Regions from separate parts of the Homo sapiens genome. Here all the other regions are linked to region 6. The links are contacts of gene promoters, found by promoter capture Hi-C in blood cells and fetal thymus (Javierre and others, 2016). All regions are on one chromosome and are shown on one strand. The core of a region is centred on a gene start or on the middle of the fragment in contact, and the rest is flanking DNA. Distances in the headings are between cores, read along the strand shown. Region 1 overlaps LOC105372666 (a long non-coding RNA gene). Region 2 overlaps LOC105372666 (a long non-coding RNA gene). Region 3 overlaps LOC105372666 (a long non-coding RNA gene). Region 4 overlaps LOC105372666 (a long non-coding RNA gene). Region 5 overlaps LOC105372666 (a long non-coding RNA gene). Region 6 holds the start of CYP24A1 (cytochrome P450 family 24 subfamily A member 1). Region 7 overlaps LOC105372666 (a long non-coding RNA gene).

Evidence for each region. Contacts are between HindIII fragments. The CHiCAGO score rates a contact against its expected background, and 5 or more counts as called.
Region 1: a fragment that was not itself captured here is called in contact with the fragment with the promoter of CYP24A1 in region 6 in 6 of 17 cell types (activated CD4 T cells, non-activated CD4 T cells, naive CD4 T cells and 3 more); the score reaches 9.2 in activated CD4 T cells.
Region 2: a contact is called between a fragment that was not itself captured here and the fragment with the promoter of CYP24A1 in region 6, in 2 of 17 cell types (naive B cells and total B cells). The highest score is 6.6, in naive B cells.
Region 3: a fragment that was not itself captured here is called in contact with the fragment with the promoter of CYP24A1 in region 6 in 1 of 17 cell types (total B cells); the score reaches 7.4 in total B cells.
Region 4: a fragment that was not itself captured here is called in contact with the fragment with the promoter of CYP24A1 in region 6 in 5 of 17 cell types (total CD4 T cells, activated CD4 T cells, naive CD4 T cells and 2 more); the score reaches 8.3 in total CD4 T cells.
Region 5: a fragment that was not itself captured here is called in contact with the fragment with the promoter of CYP24A1 in region 6 in 4 of 17 cell types (total CD4 T cells, total B cells, naive CD8 T cells and 1 more); the score reaches 8.9 in total CD4 T cells.
Region 7: a fragment that was not itself captured here is called in contact with the fragment with the promoter of CYP24A1 in region 6 in 2 of 17 cell types (naive B cells and naive CD8 T cells); the score reaches 6.7 in naive B cells.

The regions. Positions count from the first base shown.
Region 1 is chr20:52,229,906-52,232,605 of GRCh38, reverse strand. The region is part of intron 1 of LOC105372666 (a long non-coding RNA gene); the gene reads right to left. Among named protein-coding and RNA genes, the nearest start is that of ZFP64, 39 kb to the right of the region's middle. The HindIII fragment of the contact is 182 bases long and covers 1,352-1,533 here.
Region 2 is chr20:52,302,005-52,304,704 of GRCh38, reverse strand. All of the region lies in intron 2 of LOC105372666 (a long non-coding RNA gene), which reads right to left. Among named protein-coding and RNA genes, the nearest start is that of ZFP64, 110 kb to the right of the region's middle. The HindIII fragment of the contact is 3,487 bases long and covers 1-2,700 here.
Region 3 is chr20:52,285,012-52,287,715 of GRCh38, reverse strand. The region is part of intron 2 of LOC105372666 (a long non-coding RNA gene); the gene reads right to left. Among named protein-coding and RNA genes, the nearest start is that of ZFP64, 95 kb to the right of the region's middle. The HindIII fragment of the contact is 3,656 bases long and covers 1-2,704 here.
Region 4 is chr20:52,210,938-52,213,637 of GRCh38, reverse strand. The region is part of intron 1 of LOC105372666 (a long non-coding RNA gene); the gene reads right to left. Among named protein-coding and RNA genes, the nearest start is that of ZFP64, 21 kb to the right of the region's middle. The HindIII fragment of the contact is 210 bases long and covers 1,247-1,456 here.
Region 5 is chr20:52,265,620-52,268,319 of GRCh38, reverse strand. The region is part of intron 2 of LOC105372666 (a long non-coding RNA gene); the gene reads right to left. Among named protein-coding and RNA genes, the nearest start is that of ZFP64, 75 kb to the right of the region's middle. The HindIII fragment of the contact is 6,103 bases long and covers 1-2,700 here.
Region 6 is chr20:54,172,626-54,175,325 of GRCh38, reverse strand. CYP24A1 (cytochrome P450 family 24 subfamily A member 1) reads left to right here and starts at 1,340. Exons shown (of 12, transcript NM_000782.5): 1 at 1,340-2,004; 2 at 2,227-2,417. The coding sequence starts at 1,747. RefSeq lists an enhancer at 1,117-1,710. The HindIII fragment of the contact is 2,450 bases long and covers 73-2,522 here.
Region 7 is chr20:52,248,113-52,250,845 of GRCh38, reverse strand. All of the region lies in intron 2 of LOC105372666 (a long non-coding RNA gene), which reads right to left. Among named protein-coding and RNA genes, the nearest start is that of ZFP64, 58 kb to the right of the region's middle. The HindIII fragment of the contact is 3,826 bases long and covers 1-2,733 here.

The sequences.
Region 1 (2,700 bases), core at 193-2,692, 1.9 Mb after region 6:
ACAGCCATCCCTGGGTATTCATGGGGGATTGGTTCAAGAAATGCCCCAAAAAATCCACAAATGCTCAAGTCACTTAAATGAAATGGCATAGTATTTGTATATAACCTATGCACATCCTCCTGTAATTCTAAATCATCTCTAGATCACTTGTAATACCTAATATAATGTAAATACTAAGTAAATAGTTGTTACACTGAATTTTTTAAATATGTATTTTTATGGTTGTATATTTTCTTTTTTCCCCTAATATTTTCAAACCAAAGTTGGTTGAATCCCTAGATACAGAACTCATAAATACAGAGAGCCAATTGTATAGCAAATCAATCAATCAATAAGTGTATTTGAGCACCACTAAATCTATGGGATTCATGACTCACATATGAAATTACTGATGACATAAGAACATAATAAAACTATTACACCTCTTTAAGGTACAAATAGCAAATCATGTAAATGTAAGACACGGCCGTTTAGTTAAGAAAGGAGATGTTCCTGTTTAAGTTCAAAACATAATTAATTATGGTCCGAAGACATAAATTTTACCATCAGCTTCTATAAAATGTTACTATTGAAACTAGGTCACTATGCAAGAAGTATAGGTAGTTCCTCAAGAGGAAATACTTCAAAGATTAATATAAATAATAATGTTTTAAAGTTTCAAAAATATATCCAAGAATTCAAAAGCTGTGTATACATAATACTTGACTTTCTTTAAAAAAAAAAAAATTCATTCCAGGGGGAAGAAAAAAGTCTTCTCTTGAGCATATATATAAAGGTTAAGAAATATTAGTAGATTATTTATATATGTTGGTTTCCATTTTCTATCATAAAATTTAAAAAGTCAAGACAAATTAAAAATTGTCACACTTCATATCAATTATATATTGAAATATGCCTGAAAGAAAAGATTTGAAAGTAAGCAAACAATAAAATTAATACAGCAGGCCTCCTATTTCTGTGAATTTGTTGAAGCAGGAAGGGAAGATAAGGAGAAGAAGAAAAAGAGAAGGAGGAGGAGAAGGGAGGCAGGAAGAGGAAGCTGCCAAATTTATAATGCTGAAAGAACAACTTTACAAGCTCCAAAGTTCACATTTGGTTATGTTGTAAACATCAAAACCAAACTGTAGTAAGTCACCTCACAGAGTTATTTTGTCAATGATTGACTGACAATCTTTGAACAATCCCTTAGAAGACCAATCACATTTCAAAATGATTCATCATGGCATGAGGCAAACCTGTAAGGTGGACTTAGCCTTTTAAATTACATGATATGTTACTATCAATATAAGCATATCCATTATATGTCTCTAAATTTTGCCTATAGGCTAGAAAATAATAGGTAGCAAAAGCTTTTAAGAAACATACATTTGTATAATTTCCATTGTCTTTTCTCATTATCTATTGATACTGTATCTCCTGCTCTAATACAGGGGTTGTTTTGATGACACAAATTACACCAAAACTCACTATCTTCCCCGAATCTTAGTTATCAAATCCCAGAATAAAAAGTCCCTCTCAATGAGTGTTAAAGCTTCTCTCTCCCTTTTGTTAATTTTCTTAAAAAACAATAGGCCCTAACAAGAGGAAAACACGTCCTCTCCATTCCATAGTTATTTGCAAATATTGTGTCAGTGAAAAAAAGCCAGACAGTGCTGTTTTTTAAGTCCAGATCAATAAACATCACCCAGTGTAAAAACCATACCACCTTATCTGTAATGCTTGGACTCAAGGAGCTAGCAAAAGATTTGTAGGGTAAAATCTCCACAAAGGATACTACTCTGGGTGAGATTTGGTATATATGTGTTAATAAATTTTTTGTCAACTGGCCTTTAGGATTACTCTTCTGTCTGAATTTTGGTTTTGTTTTCTCTCTGTTCCTCCCCCATGGGGTTGAACCTAGAAATAGCATCGCTCTTGAGCTCGTTAGTTTGACAAACTGGCCTAAGTGTGCAGCAGCAATGGGTACCTCCAACACAGCAGCATTTATGAGTCTCCGGGGGATTCTGAGAAACACCAGGAAGTGTTTAGGTACTGAATCACAGCCAAGTATTCTGAATCTTTACTTTTTTTTTTCTATGAGGATGTCAGCATTAAAATATAGAACATGCTTTTCCCACTTGGCTTCTATTATTTGTAAAGCATTCAAGAGTTTCTAGGCTAGAACTACCTCCATCCCCAGGCAGGAGGGCAGGCAAAAACTCCAAGGAGCCTTAACAGTTCCTCTGCTGGTCTTCTTTTACACTTTTGACCCAACAACATAATAAAAATGACTAAATGCTAAACCTGAGTGCTGTGCTTGTAAATCCATCATATTTTTTATCATATTTATCCACGCAGTGTTCTCACCTTTGCTGCTTCAGATAATGCATGTTGAAATACATTTCAAAAGATAACTAGTTAGTTTTCAGATATGACACATCTATCATCCAAATAACCAGGCAATTATGACATAGTAAACCTTACGAATAAATGATTTGTTTTAAAGGTGGTTTAGATTACACTTAAAAATTAAAGTTCACATCAAAGGCAGGAAAAACAAGAAACAGTGTTTGTAAATAAGAATTTAAAACTGAAATTTGGGCAGGGATAGTATTTTTGCTCAGCTAATTTTGGTTTTTAATTACACACATTTGTTATTTATGCTACAATACCTCAGACAACTACTGGGGAAAAAGAGGGATTGCAAGTTTATTGTCTCAA
Region 2 (2,700 bases), core at 107-2,606, 1.9 Mb after region 6:
CGTTCCAATAAAACTTTATTTACAGCAGTAAGTGATGGGCCAAATTTGGCTCCTGGGCTGTAGTTTGCTGTTCTCTGATCTATTCTATATTATAATTATAAGCATATACGGGTGTGATCTTTATGAACATGGACGAATGGGAACAGAAGAATGGAAGCTCTCATCTCTTTGGGGATTGGGATTATCAGTTGGGTGGCTCTCTGCTATTTTTGTCTATTGATTTATTCTTCTGGGAATGCCACCCTGATTGGGTAGGAGGGAGTAGAGAACTACTTGTCCATCATCTTTAACTCACTGAGTCCAAGAAATTAACCCACCCTTAGATCCAAAGTAGGGCACATACCCGAGACCTGACCGCCCCCTGCCCCCACCACCCTGGTCATTCCACTGTCTTGGCCATGGTAATCTGTTCAGACAGGAGCATGAGCACAAGCAGACCAATATGAAACTCACTTCCTTGTTTTGCTTTGATTTTAATATTAAGAGAGAGAGAACCTCAGGCTGCTGAGTTTACTGAAATCAAAGCATAGGAGGCTAAAAGTTTCTCATGGCCATTTTGCACCCCCAGGCATTGGTCCTGCTGAAGAATGATGCCCACACATTGGGAAACAGATCTAAGAAATGAAGAAATGATTATTCTACTTGAGCATTGTTTGAGTCTCAGATGAAGTGATATCTAAAAGTAATTCTGTTCCTGGATTTTTCTGTGACTCAAGCTCGTGTGTTTTTTCTCCATCTGAGCTTGTTCCAATTCAGTTTTTGTCACTTTCAACCAAAAATTTTAAATGAGATCATTGTTATGGGTTTTTTTTTCTTATTTTAAAAAGTCTTTCAATATCTGTATAATATCACTTTAGCAACAAATAAAATTGAGAGAAGATGGATGAAAAGGTAACATATTTTATGTATTCATTTCTGAAGCAAAACTCATGTTCCATTTTGGCAGTGGGTGGCGGGGGGGCGTTCTTTGTCATTGGACTGACTGAGCCACTTGCAGTTCTGAAATTTGACTGAACAAATCTAAGTACTCTCTCCAAAAATGGACTGGGGGCCTATTTTGAAGCAAATATATAAAGACAGGGCTATAGCAGAGATCACAAATGATGACAATAGAAAATAATTCAGAAAAGACCATCTGACTCTGCAAAAATGCAGTGACATATGTAGGACAGCTGAGAGTCTCCAGGAGAGGATGAAAGCAACCGTGACCATCACGTGGCCACAACCTCCCTGAAAAACAGACTTCGGAAGGAAGCACAAATCTGACAGTGTTCCTGCCGTGCTTAAACCTCAGCCCCAATTCCCAGCTGCCTTCTTAAGCCCAGACTCCCATCGTGGCTATGATTGTCACAGAAGACAAACTTGAGTGTGCAAGAAATAAAATCTTTTAAAATTCTTCTGTAACTCCACTTAAACTGTTTTTATGTCAAGCCCTCCATCTACCTAATGGCAGAAAATTTAGTCACTTCCAGGTAAGTGCCATCATTCTGAGTTAAACACACAACCAATTTAGGATTCTGCACACACACACATACACACAGTCACAAACTCCTTCCTTCTTTTTTGGTAAGCGTCCAAGGACCAAGACATTTTGGAAAATAATCATGTTAGAAAGCAGAGTCTGGCCTGTCACTATACTTTGCTCTCTAGTAGCATCTGGTGGCATTTTCTGGTCTTGGGTGCTGTTGGTGTTTATCTCCCAGCATGTTCTGAGAAGCCCGTGTTACTCACTGTGTCTCTAGTTATCAAGTCTACCAAGGCCAACATGTGGCCTCCACATCAGGTCCCAGTGAGGCGTTCTACAGCCAACCACCCAACCACATTCCAGCCAGGGAGTAGCAAGTGGCCTCTCTACACAAAGAGGCCCCCAAACAGTTGCAAAGAACACTTCCACTTAAACCACTCTGGCCAGAAATTAGGCACATAGTCACACCCAGACACACAAAAAATGCTGGGGTTTGTCATGTTATTCTCATGTGCCTGGATAACCTTTGTGGGTCCAATTACTAAGAAAGAAGGGTTATATTAGCAGAAAACTTGCACTTTCTATCCAGATATTTCATATGTACCTCAAAATTGTCCAAGGCATAAATGTTACTGGAAAGGGGTCCCTATCCAGACCCCAAGAGAGGGTTCTTGGATCTCATGCAAGAAAGAATTCAAGGTGAATCCATACAGTAAAGTGAAAGCAAGTTTATTAAGAAAGTCAAGGAATAAAGATATGGCTATGCCATTGGCAAAGCAGCCCTGAGGGCTGCTGGTTGCCCAGTTTTATGGTTATTTCTTGATGATATGCTAAACAAGGGGTGGATTATTCATGCCTCCCCTTTTTAGACCATACAGGGTAACTTCCTGATGTTGGCATGGCATTTGTAAACTATCGTGGCGCTGGTGGGAGTGTAGCAGTGACGAGGACCAGAGGTCATTCTCATCGCCATCTTGGTTTTGGTGGGTTTTGGCCAGCTTCTTTGCTGTAAACTGTTTTATCAGCAAGGTCTTTATGACCTGTATCTTGTGCCAACCTCCTATCTTATCCTGTGACTTAGAATGTCTAACCTTCAGGGAATGCAGCCCAGTAGGGCTCAGTATTATTTTACCCAGCCCCGATTCAAAATGAAGACGCTCTGGTTTAAATGCCTCTGACATAAAGATAATCATAGAGATGCAATAAGTCAGAATACTGAAAACAAAGAACAAAAG
Region 3 (2,704 bases), core at 12-2,511, 1.9 Mb after region 6:
AATGGTTTCTTCTCTGTGTTGTGATTTTAAGTAATATCAATGTTTCCTAAAACTTATTAGTGTAGGTCTAGGTGAAACAAAAATAAGATACCACACTGGGAAATTAATTTTAAACAAATTACATGTAAAATGCAAGGATTTGTAATATTGTTTCTAAGGCAGTCTAATCTTCATATCATATATTTTGCTTTATGAAGCTCCCAGTTTTAATCATATTGTTTTTTATTTATTATTCCATATAATAATTGGCTTATTTGTAATATTAATATGCATGAATTTTTTTAGCCTGCTTCTTCAGGAAAGCATTCAGCCTGATGTTTATAATATGTTGATTTTAATATGCAATAGATGTGTTTATATGCAGATTAAATTGGATTGCATTTATACTAAACAAGAAAACCAAAATGTAGAGAGGTGCTGAGACCTGAGTAACTCTCATGAAAGTATAAGAACCCATGACAATTTTCAGCTCATTCCCTCCTAATAGCATAGCAGTAGATCAAACCTTAGCCTGTCTCCGTCAATATGATGCTGTACATATTTTTAGAAAAATGGAGAGGTATTTGACTCTAGAACGCTCCTATAGCAGTGGTTCTCAATGGGGAAGAGAAGGGGATTTGGGCTCCCAGTGGACATTAGGCAATGTCTGAAGATATTTTTGATTGTCATAACTAATGAGGTGGGTGGGAGAGGATGTTACCAGCATTGAATTGGTTGTTAAACACCCTACCATGCCCAGAACAGCTTTCAAACCAAAGAATTCTCCATCCCAAAGTGTCCATAGTTCTGAGGTGGAAAAACTCTGTCCTAGATGAGGAAAGGTGTTTTTTAAAAAGTAACTGAAAGCCTTTAAGCTCTATAAGTTGGGGCTGCAGGTTTTCAAACATTTTCTACAACTCAATCTTCACTAAATAAAAGTAAAAACAGGTATTCGCTGTTTAAAAGCAAATAATATATATTCAACACATATTTACTGAGTTTCCATTGTATGTCAGAGACTATTCTAGGCAAAGTCTTCCAGGGGTGACATCAATGGATAGACAGATGATAGACAGATAGATAGATAGATAGATAGATAGATAGATAGATAGATAGGCAGACAATAAGTAGACATGATATAATGTAGTGGGTAAGTGCTATAGAGAAACATAAAGTAAGTTCAGGAGATGGGAATTTTCAGAAGTTCTTTCTGAAATTATGACATTTGAGCAAACCTAATTGATGTGGAGAAGGGACCCATGCAGATACCTGGGAACAGTGCACCTGGCAGAGAGAACGTCAAATGCACACATTGTGAACTGGAAACGTGCTTGGTGTGATCAAGGAGGAGCAAAGAGACCACCATGAACAAGAGGGAGCATGAAGGAAACAAGGTTAGGCAGAGAGAGGGGCTGGGTCGTGCAGGGCCCTGTAAGCCCTGATAAGGACTTTGGATGTTATGTTAAGTGTGACATCTTTACAGGTGTATATATTTATTGGGATTTTTCTGATTCCAAAGTAATACACGCTCACTGTTTTTAAAAAATAGTAAATATTGCAGATATAATACTTGAAAACACACCAAACACCAATATTAACAATTTGCCGTATATTCCTCCAGTTTTTCCATGCATATACTAAGACCACCATATGTACTATTAAATCATTCGTCCATTCACTTATTACAAATAAATGTGCACATATACAATGCTTTTTGGCAACTTTCTTTTCTCCCAATTATTTCTTTAGCCCAAATGGTTTGGTTTTGTTTTTCTTTATTCAACTTCTCCAGTGACTGGCTTGGAGGGGAGGGGGATGAGGACATTTAAATGCGTGTTATTTAACTCTTTCTTCTCCTTCCCATATCTAGCAGAAAAGTAATCGTGAGAAAAAGTAGACAGGAAAATCAGACCAACTTATAACACAAGTGTTGGAATTAGGCAGAGCTCTATATTTTTAAAGAGCTTATTTTATTTCCTTCACTAATGCATTGTAATTTTTCTCTGTGGATATCTTACACATCTTTTGTTAGTTTTTCCCCCAGGTGTAGGTTTGTTTTTGTTTTTGAGAAGGTTGTTTTTGTATTTTGAGACAGGGTCTCGCTCTGTCGTCCAGGCTGGAGTGGAGTGGCACAATCTCGCTCACTGCAACCTCCGCCTCCTGGGTTCAAGTGATTCTCGTGCCTCAGCTTCCCAAGTAGCTGGGATTACAGGCATACGCCACCATGCTACACCTTTCTAGAACATACCACTTCTCCGTCTAAAACCTTCCAAAGGCTCCCCTTGGATGCTGGACAAAGGCCAAGCCCTTCTCCATTACAGACCCTCCCAACCATGCCTGCTAAAGCTGCAGCCACTGGGTACCTGCAGACACTTTCTTTTAGGTGCCCTATTTCTTCCATGAAGAACATCCTTTTTCTTTACTTTGCCTCAGAGACAGACTAATGCTTCAGTACCAGGTAAAATAACCCCTCTTAGAAAAACCTTCCATAGCCCTTTACTCAAGGTCTGTGGCAGGAATCGATCTTGAACTATTATTCTGCATTACTTCAGTTCAGTTTACTCACCTGCAGTTCTCTTACTGGCATTCCAAGGAACGTTTTCTCCCAAACCGAACCAAAGTCTCAGAGAAGCCACAGGACTATGAGACAAAAAGATTTGGAAACTGCCAGAGAGAATTAACTACCAATGGGCTTTTGTGTGCAGAACCACAGAGCAGAAGGAAA
Region 4 (2,700 bases), core at 102-2,601, 2.0 Mb after region 6:
TGGAAAATAAATCTTGGGACTCCAAAATCACTAAGACAAGGGAAAAGTCAAGCTGGGAATTATGTCAGGCAAACCTGCCTCCCATTTTATTCCTAAATAGGATAGTTACAAAGATAAAAAGCTATATACCTCCCTCACAATTTGCCCACAAGGAAATTCCTTGTGGACAAAGGACAGACAGAACTCAGTCATCCCTCTCAGGCTCACCAGAGACAAATGCATATATGATTGCTTCTTCTGCCTTATGTTTGTGTAAAAATGCAGATTTAATGAGCCAGACTAAATTGTGTATTTAGTGGAAGGCTGATCAAGGACTCAAAAGAATGCAACCTTTTGTCTCTTTTCTACTTATGACCTGGAAGCCCCCACCTCTAGCTGACCCACCTTACCAGACAGAACCAATGTAATCTTTCACATATTGATTGATGTTTCACATCTCGCTAAAATGTACAAAAGCAAGCTGTACCCCAACCCCCTTGGGTGCATGACGTCAGGACCTCCTGAAGCTGTGTCACAGGTGTGTCCTTAACCTTCAAAAAATAAACTTTCTAATTTGACTGAGACTTGTCTCAGATATTTGGGGTTCACAGCCACTTAGTATTTTAAGCCACTAAATTTGAAGCAATTTGTAACAGCAGCAGTAGGAAACTGATACTCCTCTGTTTGCAAATTCATTTCAAATTTCTGATCAGTGAATTTCAAATTTCTGATCTGCTCTTTGCGTTCTCCTTTGAGCTGGTTCTAACACCTCACCAGCTTCCTCATTCATGAGTTCAATAAAATCTTTCATGTGTGTTCATTTTTTTTCCTGAGAGTTACAATTTTACCTTTTTTTAAAAAACTAGCTTTTAACACTGGAAAGTAGATGAACAAGTGATAACTGGATTAGCAGACTCAGGAAAACTGAATCCCAAGCTGTCAGTGGGAAAAAGGCAAAAGAAAAACAAAAAAAAAAAAAGAAAAAGAGAAAGAACCCAAGTGTCCTGCAGGGCCTTGAAACATTCAGGAATGAGTAGCACCAGATATCTCTGCAGGTTGGAGGCATAAGTGGGGCAAAAAATAGAAAGAGTGTTTGAAAATCAAAGAAAGAGTTAGATCCCAGGTTTCCTCTCCCATGCCACGGGCATCTGACAGCCTCTGTCCTGTTCAGATGACTGCACTTTATTCTTTTGAGAGGATAAAAGAGAGAGTCTCTGGACAGGGAGCTTCAGGTACAGGGACTAAGCAGGGGGTACGGGGGGAAGCTTATATACGGATTGCTGAGACCTCTGCAACCTTCCTTCCCTAGCATGTCCCAAAAGCACTGGCAGGAGGGATTGTATCCTCTAGGCAGGAGAGTGATCCGGTCTGCTCTGAGAAATGCACCCAGTGCAGAAAAAGGAAAACGAAATACACTGATATTTTGGAGCAGGTAGGACACACCCCAGCCAGGTCACCCTGCACTGATACTTAAGCTTGACAAGCCACCCACCCCTACCCTGCGTTCTCAGAATTATCAATCAGCTCTTCAGCACCTCCTTCTAAAATAAGATCAGACTCCTAGCACTCTGGGAGGCCGAGGTGGGCAGACCACCTGAGGTCAGGAGTTCGAGACCAGCCTGGCCAACACAGTGAAACCCGTCTCTACTAAAAATGCAAACATTAGTCAGGCATGGTGGGTGCCTGTAATTCCATCTACTCGGGAGGCTGAGGCAGGAACCTCCCTGAAACCCGGGAGGCAGACGTTGCAGTGAGCTGAGATGGCACCACTGCACTCCAGCCTGGGCAACAGTGAGACTACATCTCAAAAAATAATAACTAAATAAATAAGATCAGACAGCCAAGGAGCACAAGACCTTCGAGCAAACCTGAGAGCCAAAGGCCAAAACAACCAAACAGAAAAAAGACAGGCCACATGGGTGAAACCAAAACTGGGAGAAGGAAAAAGGTTCCTCCCTCAAAACATTAACATCCTCAGAGAGGTAAGAGAAAATACCACACTCACGAAATAAGAATAAGATGCCAATTTGTTTTCATTCAAATGGTAGAAAAGGTTCTGAGAAATTAAAAATATGACAGCAGAAATGAAAAATTTAATAGAAAGCTTGAAAAATAAAGTTAAGGAAATATTCCAGAAAGTTGAGCAGAAAGACCAAGACATGCAAAACGGGGAGAAAAGATAAATTTAAAAATGACAGGACTAGTGCAAGAGTTCCTATTCCAAACACCAGGAGTTCCAGACAGAGAACAAAAAAACCAGAAGGGCAGAAAAAATGTTAATAAATTGTCCCAGAACCCGCAGAGAACAGGATTTATTAGATGGTAGGCGTGAGTATCACATGCAATATGTGGAAATAGATCCAACCAATAAATACTATCATCAAGTTTTAGATTACTAAGGAGCAAGGAAAGTAGCTATAAGCTGGTGAAAATAATGAAGTTTCCATTGAGAGATGTAACAATCAGAATAGCATCAGAGTTATATCACCAGCAACATGAGAAACTCAAGGACAACAGGGTAATACCTTCGAATTTCTTTTTTTTTTTTTTTTTTTTTTTTTGAGACCAAGTTTCACTCAGTTGTCCAGGCTGGAGTGCAACGGTGTAATCTCGGCTCACTGCCACCTCCTCCTCCCAGGCTCAAGCGATCCACTCACCTCAGCCTCCTGAGTAGCTGGGATTAAAGGTGCGCCCCACCACACCGGCTAATCTTTTAATTTT
Region 5 (2,700 bases), core at 94-2,593, 1.9 Mb after region 6:
AGATCCAATGTGAGTAATTCTACAGGAACTATCTTATCCAAAACGAAGGTAGCTGATTGGACATAACTTCTGGAAGTAACAGTGAGTGACGATCCTTCAAATCATGATGTTCTAACACTGTCTATCTTAGTTATCATACTCAGACATCTCTCATTTTTATATCTAAGAATGCATATTCATTTGTAATTAAATTATGCTGTAACCTGCACAGAATTCTTTGAAAAGGCTTACTGGGCCAGGCGCAGCGGCTCACGCCTGTAATCCCAGCACTTTAGGAAGCCGAGGTGGGTAGATCACGAGGTCAGGAGTTCAAGACTACCCTGGCCAAGATGGTGAAACCCTGTCTCTACTAAAAATACAAAAATTAGCCAGGCGTGGTGGTGGGCGCCTGTAATCCCACCTGCTCAGAAGGCTGACACAGAGAAGTGCTTGAACCCAGGAGGTGAAGGTTGCAGTGAGCCGAGATCATGCCACTGCTCTCCAGCCTGGGCAACAGAGTGAGACTCTGTCTCAAAAAAAAAAAAAGAAAGAAAGAAGGAAGGAAGGAAGGAAGGAAGGAAGGAAGGAAAGAAAGAAAGAAAAGGCTTATTGACATATTGAACAGAGACTATCTTATTTACAGAATTTGCTGAGCTTTTCTAAACAGAGACTGAAGGATAATATTTTGTTACAGATTAAAAGTGATTTAGGCAATATATAGACTATAGACATTTTGTTAGGGAATTTTCTTTTTGGAGAACAGGGCTTTGCTCTTTCACCTAGGCTGGCACAATCATAGCTTGCTGCAGACTCAAACTCCTGGGCTCAAGGATCCTCCTGCCTCAGCCTTCTGAGTGGCTAGAACTACAGGCACACACCACCATGCCTGGCTGGGTTTTTGCTTTTATTTTTTAGAAATGGGGTCTCTCACTATGTTGCCCAGGCTGGTCTCAAACTCCTGGCCTCAAGCGACCCTCTCACCTCAACCTTCCAAAGTGCTGGGACTACAGGAGTGAGCCACCACACCTAGTTTGGGGATTTTCTTAGATATTTTTGTTTTGTTAAATGACTGCCACAAAGACAGGCCTGTAACCAAGATTTTCTTTTTTTTTTTTTTTTTTTTGCTTGTTTACTCAAGATCTGGAAAGGGAAAAATGATTAGCTTTTAATGTTCACATTTCTTTGAGAGACTGGTTACTTCCATTGGAGTCTGATAACAAGTCTCAGGTGGCGTAAATCAGGCAGTGTCTAGAAGCACACAGTTTTGCAACAGACAAATTTAAATTAACTAGGGAAATGGTGGAAAATGCAACACGGTAAAATGAAAAAGTTCACAGCACATGTCTAAAACACCTTTTTCAGAACCAGGCACTTTTCTTCCTATCTGGTGGGAGTACAAATGAATTCACACTTTTTGGAGGACGATTTGACAATAGCTTTCATACTGTATAACATCAGCCCATTTGACTCCAATATTCTATTTATAGGAATATATACACTATAGATATTCTTGCATATGAGTACAAAACTAAATGTTCAAAATTGATTTTACAAAGTTGTTTGTATAAAAAAAAACTGAAAACACTTCAAGGTCTATCAATGGGAGAATATTTGAACAAATCATGCTTGATCCATTGTTTGTAACAGCAGAACACTGGAAACAATCTAAATGATCATTACTAGAAGAGTAGATAAATGATGCATTCATATGGTGAAATGGCACAACCATTAAAAATAAAGATCCATAGTACTAACATGAAAAGATACACTAGGTGGTAAGTGGGAAAAAAAGTATCTTACAGATCACTGTGTATGATATGGCCAGTGATGCTGGTGGGTAGGCAGTGTGCATGTGTTGAATGTTTAAAGTTTTATATATCCACTAGAATGTAAATCCCCATGAGGGAAGGGATTTAGCCTGTCTTGTTCACCAACATATTGCCAGTCCCTACATCAATGCCTAGCACATTATAGGGACTCAAAAGCCATTTGTTGAATAAATAAATGATTGTACACTAGTGCAAGCATAATTTAAAAGATATGGAAAGATGCACACCAAATTCATAGGAGAAAAAGCACAAGATTAAAGGAGAGAGAGACTGGGGAGGATTATGCTGATCCTCTGCACAGTTGGAAATTTTACTATGAGATTTTTCAAAAGGCTTTATGTAAAAAAAATTGAAAGGCTTGCAAAATATAATAAAACCACAAAATACAAAGCTATAATGTGGCTTTCATTTGCAATTTTTTTAATCTAGAATACAGTTCCTCCTATCTTGCCCCATTTTCCACTTCTGTCAGCTCCCACAAGAAAGGAAAGAAATGGAGTGAGGATGACAGGTAGCAGTTAACCAGGAAAAGATGCTCTCCTAAAGCCAGTGTTATTGCACATTTGGGGGTTGACCTTAGCACTCGTGAATTCTGACCTTGTGAAATACTCAACAGGAAAAGACTCAAAGAAAGTCATCAAGAACAGCTCAATCAAGATGTCCGAGCAGTATGATACAGCAGTGAAGAGAGACGGGGAACGGATGGACACATTAAAAATGAATAGGAAGGATATTAAAGGACTTCCGGTTAAAAATGGTGGCTTGAATTCACCCGTTCATCTTCTCTCCTTCTCCAAACCCCACTGAAATGACAGTAAAGGAACTAAAGAGGTATAAATTCACAAGGACAAAGAGAGTGGGAGAATAATGACAGGAGAGAAATGTCAGCCAA
Region 6 (2,700 bases), core at 91-2,590:
TAGCTATTATTTTTATTAACATAAACAGTCATTAGCCCCTCCAGACAAATCAGAAATGATGGTGTTAAAGCTTAAGTTGGACTGCAAAAGATTTTTAAGAAACAAACTAGAGGCTTACAAAAGAATTTACCAGGGAAGGATTTGCCAACACTTGGGGCAAAAATGACTGAGACACGTAATTGAAAAGCAGGGCGAGGAAACAGAATGTCCCTCCCCTCCTCCCTGGCTGGTGGTAGTTTTGTATTGGATCAGGTTGAAAGGATTCGAGCCACTTTAAAACAATCAACAAAAATCTCCAACTTCCGTTCCTGAATTAGCAAAGCGAGTTCTACTCTTGCCAGCCGCGGTAACTCTAGAAATTGTGTATGTTTGTCACTGGACCTGCCTAGGACGCACCTTGGGGGAGAGGGGGAGTACTGGGGGCGGTGGTTTCAAGCTCTGTGTGCCCCTCCTTTGCACAAGGTAGTCGGTGTAGAAGAACAGAGGCGGGCAGTGGACATAGGGGAGGTGGCCCAGCCTGAATTCAAGCATCGTTGGTGCAAGCCACGCTCTCAAGGCGCATTTCCTAACTTCCTAAAGAAGTAACAACAGCAACTAACTTTTATTGACTGTTGACTATAGACAAGGCTTCGTTGTTGCCGCTTTACGTGCATTAATTCATTTAATCTGCAAAACAACCAAACATGAAACAGCAGGAAGGAAATTCTACAAACTCCCCTTCTTGCTCAAGTTAAGAAAGTCTCCTCTTCTGGTGCATTTCAGTAAGACTCAAATCCTCCCCACCCTGGGAGGCGCAGAAAGCCAAACTTCCTCCAAAAAAAAAAAGGCAAAAAAAAAAAAAAAATCACTTCAGTCCAGGCTGGGGGTATCTGGCTCCCCGGGAGGCGCCCGGGCTCCCCGGGGCCCTGGCAGACGCCGGCAGCTTTTCTGGGCCCGCACTCGGGGACCTCGCCCGCCCGGCATCGCGATTGTGCAAGCGCCGGGCGGCAACCACGGCCGCCGCTGCCGGCTCCTGCCCGCCGGGGGAGGGCGGGGAGGCGCGTTCGAAGCACACCCGGTGAACTCCGGGCTTCGCATGACTTCCTGGGGGTTATCTCCGGGGTGGAGTCTGCCGCCCCCACCCCACCTCCCGCGCCCAGCGAACATAGCCCCGGTCACCCCAGGCCCGGACGCCCTCGCTCACCTCGCTGACTCCATCCTCCTTCCACCCCCCCTCCCCTGGGTCCCGCGTCCCTCGGAGTCTGGCCAGCCGGGGGCCACTCCGCCCTCCTCTGCGTGCTCATTGGCCACCCAGGGCATGCTCTGTCTCCATAAATGCATGGTCCCTGGGCATAGGAACATGGAGAGGGACAGGAGGAAACGCAGCGCCAGCAGCATCTCATCTACCCTCCTTGACACCTCCCCGTGGCTCCAGCCAGACCCTAGAGGTCAGCCTTGCGGACCAACAGGAGGACTCCCAGCTTTCCCTTTTCAAGAGGTCCCCAGACACCGGCCACCCTCTTCCAGCCCCTGCGGCCAGTGCAAGGAGGCACCAATGCTCTGAGGCTGTCGCGTGGTGCAGCGTCGAGCATCCTCGCCGAGGTCCTTTCTGCTGCCTGTCCCGCCTCACCCCGCTCCATCACACCAGCTGGCCCTCTTTGCTTCCTTTTCCCAGAATCGTTAAGCCCCGACTCCCACTAGCACCTCGTACCAACCTCGCCCCACCCCATCCTCCTGCCTTCCCGCGCTCCGGTGTCCCCCGCTGCCATGAGCTCCCCCATCAGCAAGAGCCGCTCGCTTGCCGCCTTCCTGCAGCAGCTGCGCAGTCCGAGGCAGCCCCCGAGACTGGTGACATCTACGGCGTACACGTCCCCTCAGCCGCGAGAGGTGCCAGTCTGCCCGCTGACAGCTGGTGGCGAGACTCAGAACGCGGCCGCCCTGCCGGGCCCCACCAGCTGGCCACTGCTGGGCAGCCTGCTGCAGATTCTCTGGAAAGGGGGTCTCAAGAAACAGCACGACACCCTGGTAAACCCCTTTTCGCGCCCCTGACTCTCTCCTCCCTCTTCCGCCCTCCCAGTGGCGCTCCAAACCCTCCCCGACATGCGCGCCTCGGGCGCATGGTGCGCTTCGGCGTCTGGGCAGGGAGGGTCCCCGGTCCCCTAGGAGGAAGGAGGCGGGAGGAGGGAAAGCGCTTCGGGCACGGCGGAGGATGCGCGCTGACACCGCGCTGTGCCCGGCCGGCTGCAGGTGGAGTACCACAAGAAGTATGGCAAGATTTTCCGCATGAAGTTGGGTTCCTTTGAGTCGGTGCACCTGGGCTCGCCATGCCTGCTGGAAGCGCTGTACCGCACCGAGAGCGCGTACCCGCAGCGGCTGGAGATCAAACCGTGGAAGGCCTATCGCGACTACCGCAAAGAAGGCTACGGGCTGCTGATCCTGTGAGTCCAATCCGAGGGACCTGGGCATGCGGCCAGACCTGATGAGCCTGACGGCGCCTGGAAATTGTGAAGAGGCGGAGTTAGAGTTCCCTGGGGTTGGAAGCTTCTTACGTAGGGCGGATACCAAAGCCCCTCTCCCGTGCCATCGCAACCCTGAGCTCTTGTACAGATTAGAGTCGGTCCACGGAAAAGCCGTGCTGTGCACCCAGCACCTGCGTTCTCTCTGGCAACAGGGCAGGGCCACACCCTCCCATCAAAGAAACGCCAAAACAGGGTTGTACCA
Region 7 (2,733 bases), core at 233-2,732, 1.9 Mb after region 6:
AGTCCCCTATCATAGCAAAATCTGGGAGGCAGGTTTACCCAAATTTACTGTCTTCAGGTACCCCCAAAAAACAATTATTTGTAAATGCCTTTGTTTTTCAATCGTGATACCTACCTGTAACTCACATGTTTACATAGCAAATGAATGTACTGAGTATGACTTCTCACTCAAGGAACAATGAAAACATGAGAAGTCGTTTTAATAAAGAGAATTTGCACCGCCAGGCGTGGTGGCTCACGCCTGTAATCCCAGCACTTTGGGAGGCCAAGGCGGGCGGATCACAAGGTCAGGAGATCGAGACCATCCTGGCTAACATGGTGAAACCCTGTCTCTACTAAAAATACAAAAAATTAGCTGGGCGCAGTGGCGGGTGCCTGTAGTCCCAGCTACTCAAGAGGCTGAGGCAGGAGAATGGCATGAACCTGGAAGGCGGAGCTTGCAGTGAGCCGAGATGGTGCCACTGCACTCCAGCCTGGGTGACAGAGCAAGACTCCATCTCAAAAAAATAATAATAAAATTAAATTAAATTAAAATAAAGAGAATTTGTAAAGGGAATCTGAGTGAAGGCATAGGAGGAACTTGATTTATATCCAGACATTGAAAGGACATCAAAGAAAGCATGAAAAAGAATCCCAGTAATTATTTTCATCATGGAACCTGTATCTATTGATTTTCAGTGTTCAGCTGGTTGTAAAAAATACCAGCTGCATAATGAAATGTCATTTACATAGAGTATGAATTGCATGCAACATGAACAGAAACTTAGTTTTCTAATGGAAACATATTTCTGGGTTTTTTTCTCATGAGAGATATTATCCTTTATTTTTAAAAGTCATTTGACTTTTAAAGAGATATTGAAAATCCCTCTCATAGTCCCAGCCCATGGGGGAAGCCTACTTCTCACACATCCATCTCAGGCTTATTTTTATATCTTTTTATGCAAACATCCATACGTGTCTTCAAACAAAAATGGAATCACATGATAATGCTAAGGGCAGGAACACTTATTCTCTAGTCCTCATGTTTCCCTATGGAGGGACCACGATCATGGTAAGACTCCTGTCCTCACCCCACAAAAGAGTGAGTTAATTGATTGATAGGTGTATTAGTCCATTTTTACACTGCTATAAAGAACTAACTGAAAGTGGGTAATTAATGAAGAAAAGAGGTTTGACTCCCAGTTCTACATCCCTAACAGGAAGCATGGCAAGGAAGCCTCAGGAAACTTACAATCATGGCAGAAGGCGAAGGGGAAGCAAGCACATCTTAGCATTTTGGAGCAGGAGAGAGAGACTGAAGGGGGAAGTGCCACACATTTTTAAACCATCAGATTTCATGAGAACACAGTTACTATCATGAGACCAGCAAAGGGAAAATCAGCCCCCATGATCCAATCACCTCCCACCAGGCCCCTCCCCTGACACGTGGGGATTACAATTTGACATGAGATTTGGGTGGGGACATAGAGTCAAACCATATCAATGGGTGATAGCCATTTGTCCACATATCTCAACTAGGTAAGCTAACACACTAAAAGGCTATTTGCAATTTGCTCCCTTTCTTCTCTGCCCCAGAACCAAGCAATCTTTGAGGCAACAATCTTCCACAAGCGTAACTTTTGCCTGGGTGGGCTATAATGAACCCATGTGGATACTCTCGTAAGCTACATCCTCCGATAAAACTTTTATCCGTAATGAAGATGATGTTTTTATCACCATCTCTCTGACTTTTGCGGTTCTCTCTCAATTGATTCAAAACTTAAACAAGAAAGAAGAATATTACTTTATTAGGCCCCACTCAAGCCCCAATGTACACACATCCATTATTAACAGACTTTCATATGACAATATTTTGTGGACACATTTCCACAGTGATAAAGATTAGCTTACCTATTGGCCGGGCTAAATACGTGTATTAGTCTGCCTTCATGCTACTGATAAAGACATACCCAAGACTGGGCAATTTATAAAGAAAAAGAGGTTTAATAGACTCACTGTTACACATGGCTGGGAAGCCCTTACAATCATGGCAGAAGGCAAAAGGCACATCTTCCATGGTGACAGACAAGAGAGAATGAGAGCCATGTGAAAGGGGAAACTTCTTATAAAACCATCAGATCTCGTGAGACTTATCCACTACCACAGGAACAGTATGGGGGAACCACCTCCATGATTCAATTATCTCCCACCAGGTCCCTTCCACAACTCATGGGAATTATGGGAGCTACAATTCAAGATGGGATTTGGGTGGGGACAGCCAAAACATATCAATACCTAACTACATTGTGCATTAATACATACATCCTGCATGGTATAAGAATTTATTTGGTCAATCCCCTATTGATAGGCAGTTGAGTGCTTTCAGTTTTTCACTGAAATAAACAACAGTGCAATGAGAATCTTGGCACATACATCTTAATGTACTTATCCAATTATTTCCCTAGGTTAATTCCTACAAGTGAAATTGCTGGATCGAAGCACATGGACAAGAAGTATCTGTGGCACTTATTGCAGAAAGTTTGCATTGGTGGAACCTCGAGTGTCTGCTTTCCCACATCCTTACCAGCACTGAGAATTTTCTTTTTCATGTTTTCCACCTCTCTGAAATAAAATTAATACCTGATTTTGTTTGCAATTTCATTTTTACTGAGGCTGCATAATTTTTCATATACTTATTTTTCTATGAATTGCCTGAGGATATTAAATTTTGTTACCATAGCCAATGCCCATAGAG